3 separate regions of the Homo sapiens genome follow, and all the other regions are linked to region 1. Evidence: promoter capture Hi-C in human tissues and cell types (Jung and others, 2019). All regions are on one chromosome and are shown on one strand. Each heading gives the region's core, a stretch centred on a gene start or on the middle of the fragment in contact. The rest is flanking DNA. Distances are from core to core; before and after follow the strand shown.

What was found. Contacts are between HindIII fragments. The study calls those that stand out against the background at their distance.
Region 2: a contact is called between a fragment that was not itself captured here and the fragment with the promoter of FRAS1 in region 1, in 3 of the 25 tissues and cell types used here (mesendoderm cells, pancreas and thymus).
Region 3: a fragment that was not itself captured here is called in contact with the fragment with the promoter of FRAS1 in region 1 in 2 of the 25 tissues and cell types used here (H1 embryonic stem cells and mesendoderm cells).

What each region holds. Positions count from the first base shown.
Region 1 is chr4:78,055,566-78,058,999 of GRCh38, forward strand. It overlaps FRAS1 (Fraser extracellular matrix complex subunit 1), which reads left to right and starts at 1,758. Exons shown (of 74, transcript NM_025074.7): 1 at 1,758-2,520. The coding sequence starts at 2,445. RefSeq lists an enhancer at 344-1,315. The HindIII fragment of the contact is 7,312 bases long and covers 1-3,434 here.
Region 2 is chr4:78,267,009-78,270,442 of GRCh38, forward strand. It overlaps FRAS1 (Fraser extracellular matrix complex subunit 1), which reads left to right. Exons shown (of 74, transcript NM_025074.7): 9 at 233-424. Among named protein-coding and RNA genes, the nearest start is that of SNORD161, 20 kb to the right of the region's middle. The HindIII fragment of the contact is 3,828 bases long and covers 1-3,164 here.
Region 3 is chr4:78,208,909-78,212,342 of GRCh38, forward strand. All of the region lies in intron 2 of FRAS1 (Fraser extracellular matrix complex subunit 1), which reads left to right. Among named protein-coding and RNA genes, the nearest start is that of SNORD161, 78 kb to the right of the region's middle. The HindIII fragment of the contact is 8,399 bases long and covers 1-3,434 here.

The DNA of each region.
Region 1 (3,434 bases), core at 508-3,007:
TGGCTAATTTTTGTATTTTTAGTGGAAATGGGGTTTCACCATGTTGGCCAGGCTGGTCTCGAACTCCTGACGTCGTGATCTGCCTGCCTTGGCCTCCCAAAGTGCTGGGATTACAGGCGTGAGCCACCGCACAGGCCCTACTTTCTAAATAAAAAGGGAGGGGTCTTTTTTTGGGAGGAGGTTAAGGCCCGCAGCTCCCCTTGATATGGCCGCTGCTCTCAGGCACTTAATCCATTATTTCAACAAATGTTTAAAGAGCACCTACTATGTGCTTCAATTATACAAAGATGATACAACCTCTGTCCCTAGAATGACCACAGCCCAACAGAGAGACTGAGGGCGAAATGTGCAAACCCTGGGTCCTCCAAATACTTAAGATTCAGAGCCAGGTTGTCAGAGGTTCTCCTTTGTTCTGGCTGAATAGTAACACTGACAGGGACCTGCCAGTTTCAAGTTATTCCAGTTATTCGGAAAAGTGAATTGTTCCAAGTGGCGTCAGTGCACGTTAGAACGTGGGCCCGCGTCATGGTGTTCGTGAAGACTGGAAACAAGTGGGACCCCCGCCAGCACAGCTCATGCAACTGCTTCCCCTCCAACAGTTTCGCCCATCCCGACTCAATTGAGGGACCCGAGACGTTTCTTCTCTGGGCCAATCAGAACCCAGTCAGCATCTCTCTGATGCAACTGTTCCCTTATAAAACGATTAAACGTGGACCAGCTATTTTTATTCGGTCCTATAAAAATAGCTGCCGTCAGTCAGTCCTGGCGGGGAATCAAGGCCTCTGCTCTTCAAGTGCGCGCCCCAGTCGGCCGTGTCCTGATGTTACTTTCCCAGCCATTGGCATCTGGGGGCGCAGCTGGACCCACAGCTCCCAGACCGCGTTGTGTTCCACTGACAGAGTCTCCTAGGGAAAGGGAAAGGTGCATTTGCTCTCAGGCTCCGCCTAGGACACACACACCAAGATCTTCCCGGGCTGCTGGTAAAAGCCAGGATGCAACAGCCTGAGGGTCCCAGAGCGAGGAAGAAGGATCAATCAGGTCCCCCGGACGCACTTAGTTCAGCAGGAGTGGCGGGCTGTGGGGGTGGGAGGTAGCCCCAGGGCCTTTGATGTGGGCACACGCTCCCCCAGCCCGCCGAATCGGTTCCTCCCCTAACAAGGGATGTGGACACGGTTCATCTGCCTTCCGGTGTGCCTGAGCAAGAACTGTGCAACCTATCTCCACCCCCTCCGTCCCCGGTATGAGCACTTTTGATTCCTCCCCAGACAAAGCCAATCTGAACTCCAGCAGAATGAATAAAGGGATCAGGTTGCTCTCCCGGCCTCCCCTCACCTCCCTCCTCGCTTCTCCCTTTCCCCACGTGACTCTCTGGAATTTCGCCAAAGCTCCGAGTCTCTGGGTCCATTTTCACACCGAGCAAAGCAGAGAGGAAGGAGGCAAGGGAGACTAGAGGAAGGCTGAACGTGTGTCCTTTAAACACGGGGTCCAGACCCGGCGTATTTTGGGCGTTTCCAGGCTCTCTCGCCAGAGTGGCCTTGAGTTTGGGGGTCTTTTCCAGCCTCGCTAGCTTTTTCCTCCGTGCAATTAAAATTATGGCTCTTCTTCCACTCCCGTAATCATTGCACCTCTACCCTGCAGACCTCCTCCGGGGTGTTCAGCGCGGAGGTGGGTGTTGGTGTGCAGCAAGCCGCGTCCCCGCAGCCCTCCTCACCCAGGCGAGGGGCGGGGACGAGAAAGTAGCAGCAGCGCCCCCCAGTCTTTCCTCTGAAGCTTCCGAACAGTCTGCTTCAGGGAGCGCAGCCTGAGGCGGTGTGGTGCGGTGCGGCTGCAGGGCGGGCGAGTCCCCGGAGCTGCCCTCAGCGCTGCACAGTTTCCAGCGAGCGGACCCCGGCAGATGAGGTCTGCCGAGCCGGGTGGCTCGACCAAGGAGTGGGTGTGGGTGGGTCTTTCGGGGCTCCCGGCGACCCGCGGTGCCGACGCAACGCCGACGTATGGTGCCAAGCGAACTTTAAAAAGCTGCTTCGGACAAACCAGAGCCAGGATTTCCACTGTCGGGGACCCGGGATCGGAAGGGTCTAGCCCGAGGGAAATGCTGGAAGATCCCATCGGCCAGTGACCAGCAACTTTCCGGCGAGATTTTGACGCGGAGAACTGTGCTCTGCCTCCTCTTATTCTCCCAAAGCTCACGTTGGCGTCCTGCCTTGCGGGGGAACTCGGCGCGCTCTCTGCCTGAGCAGCGAGTGAATTGAACCCCAGCCCGCTCCGGCGCCTCCGGGCTGATGAGTGTCGCTCTCCGCCCGTCCATCTCTTTTTCCCGGAGGTAAAGGCCCGCGGTCCCCCACCTTCAGTGCGCCCGGGTTCCAAGCGCCGGAGCCAGCGTTTTGGCGGAGCCGCTTCTTGGATGCTGAAGGCTGGGCTCCTCCATCGTGGGTGCCGAGGCGGCGATGGGTGTCCTCAAAGTGTGGCTCGGGCTGGCCCTAGCGTTGGCGGAATTTGCAGTATTGCCTCATCATTCCGAAGGTGAGAGAGCGGTGCCGCGTGTGTGTGTGTGTGTGCGTGTGCGTGTGTGTGTGTATGTGTGAGTGATCGTGCAGTTTAAAAATCTCAGCAGGTTTTATGGTATTTCGGTGAGGTGGAAGTTTTTCTGGGAAGGGTGAGGTGGAAGTGAAACTGGAATAGGCTTTTTCTGATAAGATTCCTACTCCTGATTGTTTTGTATTCGGATTACACCCCCGAAACGGCCTCCCTCTCTGCCCTAAGTGCTTTTGGGTGGGTGGGTGGCCGATGGAGGTGACATCTCTGAAACTGATCCTTTTTCTTTCCACCACCTACCTTTCCCCGAAGGGAAAGCAACTGCATGGAGCACAGGTGAGGAGCGAACAATTGCTCTTACCTGTTTAAAAATACTTCTGTTCCTAAGAAACATACAGTCTTTCATCTTAAAGCCCCATCGCTCTCCCGCCCTCCTTACCTCAGTTAGTCTCCCCCTAAAGTCCAGTTAGGATTTTATAACTAACTGGTTGGAGCGTGTTCTGGTCGTGGGCAGTTCAGTTGCACTGAAAGAAATCTCTCCAGTACGGAGAAGCACGAACCAGCCTGCTTCCCAGAACAAAAGTGGTTAATAAGAGTTTAGGTTCATTCTTTTACTTCACCCTCCGCCTCCTGGTTTTCCTCCGAGGCTCCAAGCTACCTGTAAAACCCCGGAGCCGCAGGAGAGAAAAGGAAGCCGTGAGACTAGTTGTCGCCATGATATCAAATGCAATCCGGGCTCAGCCAAATAAATGAGTCAATAAGTAAATCAAGAGTTTGGGGTCATGGGATGCCGGGCCTGGGGACGCGAGGCGCTGTGAGCTCCCTCCTGCTCCGAGGAGCCAGGGAAGTCGCCCCGCCAGTGCTTAGGGAGGGGGAAGGGAGCCGGCGGGCTGGGAGGAAGA
Region 2 (3,434 bases), core at 1-2,500, 210 kb after region 1:
TGTGTCCTTTGGGGGAATCAAAAGTTTTATAATGTTTGCAAAGTTACATAAAGATATGAAGGCTCTGCTTCCTAGGAAGAAGGGTTGAGGTGCAAGGGACCCTGCCCATCGTGGGTCGGGCCAGAGAAAGAGCCATGTAGAGCTTTGGTATTTTGGGTCCTCCTGCCTCTGTTGGCTTGGGTGTTTCACCGTCTCCTGAGGACTGCCCCTCACCTTCCTCTCTGTGTCCTAGGGTCAGAGCAGGGCTCGGCGTCATGGGCAATGCTGTGAGGAATGTGTGTCTCCTGCCGGGAGCTGCTCCTATGATGGAGTTGTGCGGTACCAGGACGAAATGTGGAAGGGCTCGGCCTGTGAGTTCTGCATGTGTGATCATGGCCAAGTGACCTGCCAGACTGGAGAGTGTGCCAAAGTGGAGTGTGCCCGGGTAAGAAGCAGGGGCATTTCCATTTGGAACGTTGCAGCTCTTTCCAACGGGATAGTGAGGGGTCCTGCCTGTTCTTTACTTCTTGGCAGCAGCAGGGATGTCCACATTGACTTCTCACACTTCATAGGACCTTCTAGTGTAAAGCTTCCGTGGTATAAAATGAATGTCACTGTTTGTTCAGACTAGCTCAGAACAGCCCCCTGGATCTTTTAGCTCTCAGTACATCTGGTCAAATTGGAAGCCCCGAGCCAGAGACATGAAAGGGAAGGACATGATATGGGACATTAGCCTATCAGGCAGCGCAGCTGGATCTCATTGCTGATGGCCTGCCCAGTTCTCCCCGGCTGTGAAACAGGGTCCACAGGTGTGCTGGTGGCCGGGCTCTTGCTGTAGGCCCCACTGACAGCATTTAGCAGAACGAGAGCCAGCACAGAGGGGCCGCTTCCGTGGATCAGGAAAAAACATAACATGCTTTTTGTTTTTAAGAGAGAGCAAAGGGGACCTTATAAACAATTAACTCCATTGACCTCTGTTAACCTCTGCTGTCTGCAGAATTTCTAGAAGCTTCTAACAAAGCAGCCTCTGTTTGGACTATAGATGTACTGTATGTTGGAGGGAAATGACTTTTTTTTTCCTCTTTGAACTTGATTTTGACCCATTACAAAACAAATTGCTTTTAAAGTTGTCTCCGTCTCTCTCACTGCTCCCTTCCGCCCCACCAATTTCCCTGTGGGCCGTGAACTTGAGTAGATGAGGGAAATTAGAAAGATCTGGAGCCCTGGGTTTCTGTGAAGGTATTTTTCTTTCTAGTTCTTCTCCCCCACTTCTCAGCTCCTCTTAACCCTGAGCCTAAGGAGGAACAACCTTTCAGACATGGCTGTCATCGGCAGGGTTATTTTTCAACTTGCCTCCTACTTGTAGGTCTTGACAGAGTTGAGACATATTTAGGTAAAGAGGGTCTTGCTTTTTGCAGATTTATTTCCCCTTAGATGCCTTTTCATTTATTTTCTTTATGTTAGAGGAATCAGGGTGATTGGATGAAGATGAGAAGAAAACCTAATCAGGGCCCTTTTTTGTTGTCTCTGTCGGGCTGAGGCTGGGCTTCCCTGCCTCGGCAGTCTGCCCAGAGGATCTCATTTTATTAAGGACTTAATTTATCTAACATCCTAGAATTTATGAAAAAATGTGGGAGAGGAGATTCTGGTAGGGTGGGCCCTTTAACCACCTAATTTCAGTCAGATCTGAACAAAGAGTCTCAGTCACAGAAAATTGTTTAGCACATATCCCTAGCATTTCTGCATTTCCATGTGCCTGTCTGCTGCTGTCGGCTGTGACACCTGGCTATCATGGCATGAGCCAGGCATTCTTGGCTATTCTTAGGGAATATGGGGATTAGCTGCCAAAGTGGAGAGCACTTCAGTATTCAAGTCACCCCATAACACCGTCTCATTCCTTTCTAGTTACTTCCACTCCACTGCCATCTTTTCTTTTATGAATTGAGGAGTTCTGATGCCTCACCTATTTCTCCAGATCTTTAACCAGCTAAATTGTTTTCTTCCATATTACTTCCATGTTTCCCAAGTTTTGTTTAAAGCCCTGGGTTCTAAACTAGAAACTCTACCAGAATTGAAATTTTAACCAACATTGACTCTGATGAAACATATCTCTTAGCCTTCTTTATATGCCATACTTCTGTTGACCTTGTTAAAGCCTGGATGTACTAACTTCCTAACTTCGGCTTAGCTTGTATCCCTGGTGATAAAAAGATGAATAAGGCTCGTTATGACCTTAAGAGTTTCCAGGCTTTTTGGGAAGTCAGATATGTAAGCAAAAATTATAACACAGTGTGGCACCAATGGAAATATGAGTTAAATATATTAGGAGCTCCCGGAGGAAATGACTATGTCTGCCAAGGGGCACAGTGGAAGTGCCCTTTTGATATTTTTATTCAGTTCTACCCCACTTTCTGCCTGCCTCCTTCTCTAAAATATCAAGGTCATTTTGATTTCTGATCTTGGATACCAAGGATGGATTAAGTGTAAGTGCAATGCACATCAGAAAGCCACAGAGAAGTTAATTTTTAAAAGAAGAGGCAAAGGTGTGCAGCTTCATCGTTGTCTTCATTATCACACTGGTTATCAACAGCAATGTTCTGAATAGCATTAAAATCAGCATACAGTTTTTGTTGTTGTTAAAAAAGAAGAAAATGGCCTGGTCTTTGTCTTTGCTATATTCCACCAAATCTCTAAACATTGAAACATAAACAAATCAATGATAGGCTAGCACAATATAATGATTTTCATATTTCTAGATTTAATGATGTCTTTGAACCTTAATTCAGGTGAAGAAGTCAAATTACCTTTTGAAGAAGAGGACCTAGCATTCACATCTGGAGCATAAAATGGAATGGGGAAAATTGAAGCTTGGAGCAAAATGCATAGGAGAGGGTAGGCGCGTGGTAAATGTGAGCTGCCATTCCCTGCTCCAGTGGAGGCAGTTTCCCTCAAAAGAGTGTTTCCTTTTCCAATGAGCAAGTTAGCCCAGTCTTAGTCGTTGGTCTGGTGGCTGTAGGTATGATTAGGTGGGGAAAGGGTAGAGATTCTGTCTGGCCTATGCAACAGAATCCTCTTAAAAAGGAAAGAATTTGTTTGTTTCTGAAAGCAATTTTAGTCAAAAGTCAAATACTAATTGGAGTGAACTCCCCACTGCAGTGAACTGATGTGGTTTGGGGCATTGAGGCTGCTTCTGTAAATAGAAAAGCTATTTGAAACTTCCCACCTCACCAAAACTGAATCCTTGTGCCCCAGGAGCAGCGCTTGCTGTTACTTACAATGATGTTTGAAGGTCAACAGCCTTTCTGTTGCACAGGCCTTACTGTTTCTATACCTTCCCTACCTAATCATACCTACATCCACCAGTCCAAAGACTGAGATTGGACTAACTAACCTGCTCATCAGAAAAAGGAAACACTCTTTTGAGGATATTTGCCTCCAGTGGAGCAGGGCAAGGC
Region 3 (3,434 bases), core at 599-3,098, 150 kb after region 1:
AGTGGATCACTTGAGCCCAGGAGTTCGAGACCAGCCTGGACAACAAAGTGAGACCCTGTCTCTACAAAAAAATAAAAAATAAAAAAATTAGCCAGGTGTAGTGGCACATGCCTGTGGTCCCAGCTACATGGGAGGCTGAGGTGGGAGGATTTCTTGAGCCAGGGAGGTCAAGGCTGCAGTGAGCTGTGGTCGTGCCATGACACTCCAGCCTGGGCAGCAGAGCAAGACCCCATGTAAAAAAAACAAAAAAAAAACAAAGTATGATTCTTTTTACAGAAAAGCCATACCTAGTTTAGGTCGTACTGAAAAGAGGAAAGTGAATTGTAGTTTTTATACCCATTATATATGTACGTCCATGCTCCAAAAGCACCACATAGAGTTTGCTCTCTTCAGTAGTTAACCCTGGAGGTTGCATGCACTGGTGGGCCCCTTCCCTTCTGGCTTCCTGTTGGGTGTAAGCAATGGAAGACACCACAGGAGACTAGGGGGTGGCAGGAGAATGAGGTAGGGATATTTATTCCTCCAGCTCCCTCCCTCTGTTGGGTGGCTTCCTCTGTCCCCAAAAGACCACAGCTCTTTTGGGTTCTGGAACTGTTCTCCTTTATGTCTGTTCAGACCTGGTGGTGCTAATGGCTATCTCTGTTTGCCTGGGGCTTCCTTTACCCTACCCACACCTCTGTCAATAGTCTATATCTTATACTTTCCTTGGGTCCCCAGTTGGAGTGAGCCATCTATTTTCTGCCCTTTTCTCTGAGGTTTGTGCAGTTCTGTGGTTCTGAGGGCAGATCCTTAAACTGTCAGGATCTCCCTGGCTAACTTATCTATTATTGAAAGGGTCATAGCAGCAGGATCATATTGAAACTGACCTTTGAAAATAACTGCTCTTAATTAAAAGGAGTATTTGATCCCAAGTAAATCGTCAAGGAGGCTAATTTCATTCACCTTCTTTACTGTTGACCTGCCTCTCAAATGAACTGACAAAGCCAGAACAGCCCGTTGACTCTGTGCTCTTTAGCTCCCTGTGCCAGAGTTCCTGCGGTTCTCAGGCTGTGTCCTGTCTGGGGTTCAAATAGCAGAGTTGCCTAAGCTCTTTATCCTTGTTGACCCAGCCTCTGCTGAGCTCCTTACCTGCCTCATCTCTTGCTAGTCCCCTTCATCCTTCATGTGATGGTAGCACACAGCACACTGTGCTATTCCACTTCACACCCCAGGACCTGTGTTCCTGCACTTCCTCTTCCTGGAACAGCTGCTTCTCCCTCCTTCCCCCTTCCCTAGCCCTCACAACTCTCTTTTATTTAATCTATCTAATAGCTTCCAAGACTTAATCTGGGACCACCTCCCAGAAGCCTTTTTCTCCAAAGCTGGGCTGAAGGCCCTGGTCTCTGTGTTCTCATTCTAAGCCACTCATACCTTGGTGATAGCATGAATCACCTTGCATGTAAATTAGCCACTGTGATAAGCTTTGTGTTTAAATGTACTGTTCATTCTCCCAACAGACTCTATCAGGCCTAGGTCTATATCACTTGGAGTCTCAGCACCAAATACAGTGTCTGGTGCATAGTGAGTAGACACATATCTCTTACGAAGGTGCCCTGATTTGTAATAAATGACAGTTATATTTTCGGGCTTTCTTGACTTCCACAGAGTGTCAGCTTTTGCTTTGCCTTCCTCTGCCCCAGGCTTTTCATATCTCAGGGATACTTGCATGCCCTGAGAAGTTGGGGCCATAGGGATGGCTCATGTGTCATTGTCCTGCCCTTGTCTACGAGAAGGATGATACAATTATGGAAAATAGGTTTGCCTGGTATGGCAGCATCTGAGACAGAGAAGGTAAGTGAATTATCTATATCTATACAATCATCACAGAGCAGGGGAATTGTAGGTGTTGGAGCTCCTGGCAGAAATCAATGGTTGTTAGGTTATAAAATCACAGGGCCTGTTAGGTGGCAGTGCCTCCAAAGAAGCAGTAAGCTACTTTCTTCCTGGTTGTGCAATGTGGGGAGTTTATGGGCACCCCATGTCCGCACCCACCAAGGCTTCATTTCCCTTCACTGAGGTGTGAGCATTCTCCTCCTGGTGCGCGTATGGTGTTGGACAGCATGGCCTCCCCATAGGGAAGGATGGTAATTGTTGGCAAAGAAAGGCAGTGTGGATATCTAAGTGCTTAAATTATAGTGAGAAGTTTCATTTGAAAGTAATTGCATGACATAACTAATAAATATTTATAGATGTCGGGGCAAGGGTTATTTCAGAAGGGAGTGGGTTATAGACAGGGAAAGGACATGAAGGAAACTTCTGGGTGTTGATAAGTTTATCTATGGAAACCTGGGTGGTGGTTGCATCACTGTCTAAATGTGTAAAAGTATTGTTGAGCCATGCACTGAAGACAGGCGCACCTATCTACCTTATGGAGAAATGCCATCTTTCGATGTATTTTTAAAAAGAAGTCAACTTGTGAAAGTTTATATACTGTCATTGAAAAAGCAGGGAGGCAGGAGGCTGATTCTGACACCCTAATAGAAGGGGCTATGACTAAAATACTGCCTTTGAACTTATGTGCTCATTGGGCTAACACAGATCCATGGAGAAGGCATGGGGAAAGCCATGTTGTGGCAAGCATTTGTCTGAGCACCTGTACCCTCTAGCTGCCTTCCAAGGGCTCTTCACCTGGACTACCCAGCATGGGCCCAGGGGCTTGGGAAATTGTTTCACTTCATCAAATTTTTCCTTGGACTTGAGCTCAAGTAAAGTTCTGACATTAAGTAATCCCCTCTTTTAAAAAAAATTGTTGTAATATATGTACAGCATAAAATTTGCCATTTTAACTGTGTAATTCAGTGGCATTAATCACATTCATGGTGTTGTGCAACCATCACCATTATATGTTTCTCAATTTTTTAAATAATCCCAAACAGAATCCCTGTAACCATTAAGCAGTAACTTTCCACTCTCCCTCCCTCTGCCTCTGGTAACCCCTCATCTACTTTCTCTCTCTCAAAGTTTGCCTATTGTAGATATTTTAGAAATGGAATCATACAAGATCTGCCATTTTGTGTTTGGCTTATCTCATTTGGTATGTTTTCAAGGTTCATCTGTGTTGTAGCATGTATCAGAACTTCATTTCTTTTTATGACTAATATTCCATTGGATGCATATGTATGTATATATATACACATTCATTCATCTTTCATCTGTTGAAGAAACTTGGGTTGTTTCCACATTTTGGCCATTGTGAATAATTTTGCAGTGAATACTGGCTAAGTAATACTTATAAAAAGTATGTAAAATTTGAAAATTGTCACCTTTGCAAATTCTTGTTTGTCCTTCAAGTCTCATCTAAAATGTTACCTTCTCTGTGGAACCTACTGTGACCTCCTTCCTCTTGCATTCGCTGCATTTTGTGCATCGTCTTCCCTTTCTGTAGGCCTGAGGGT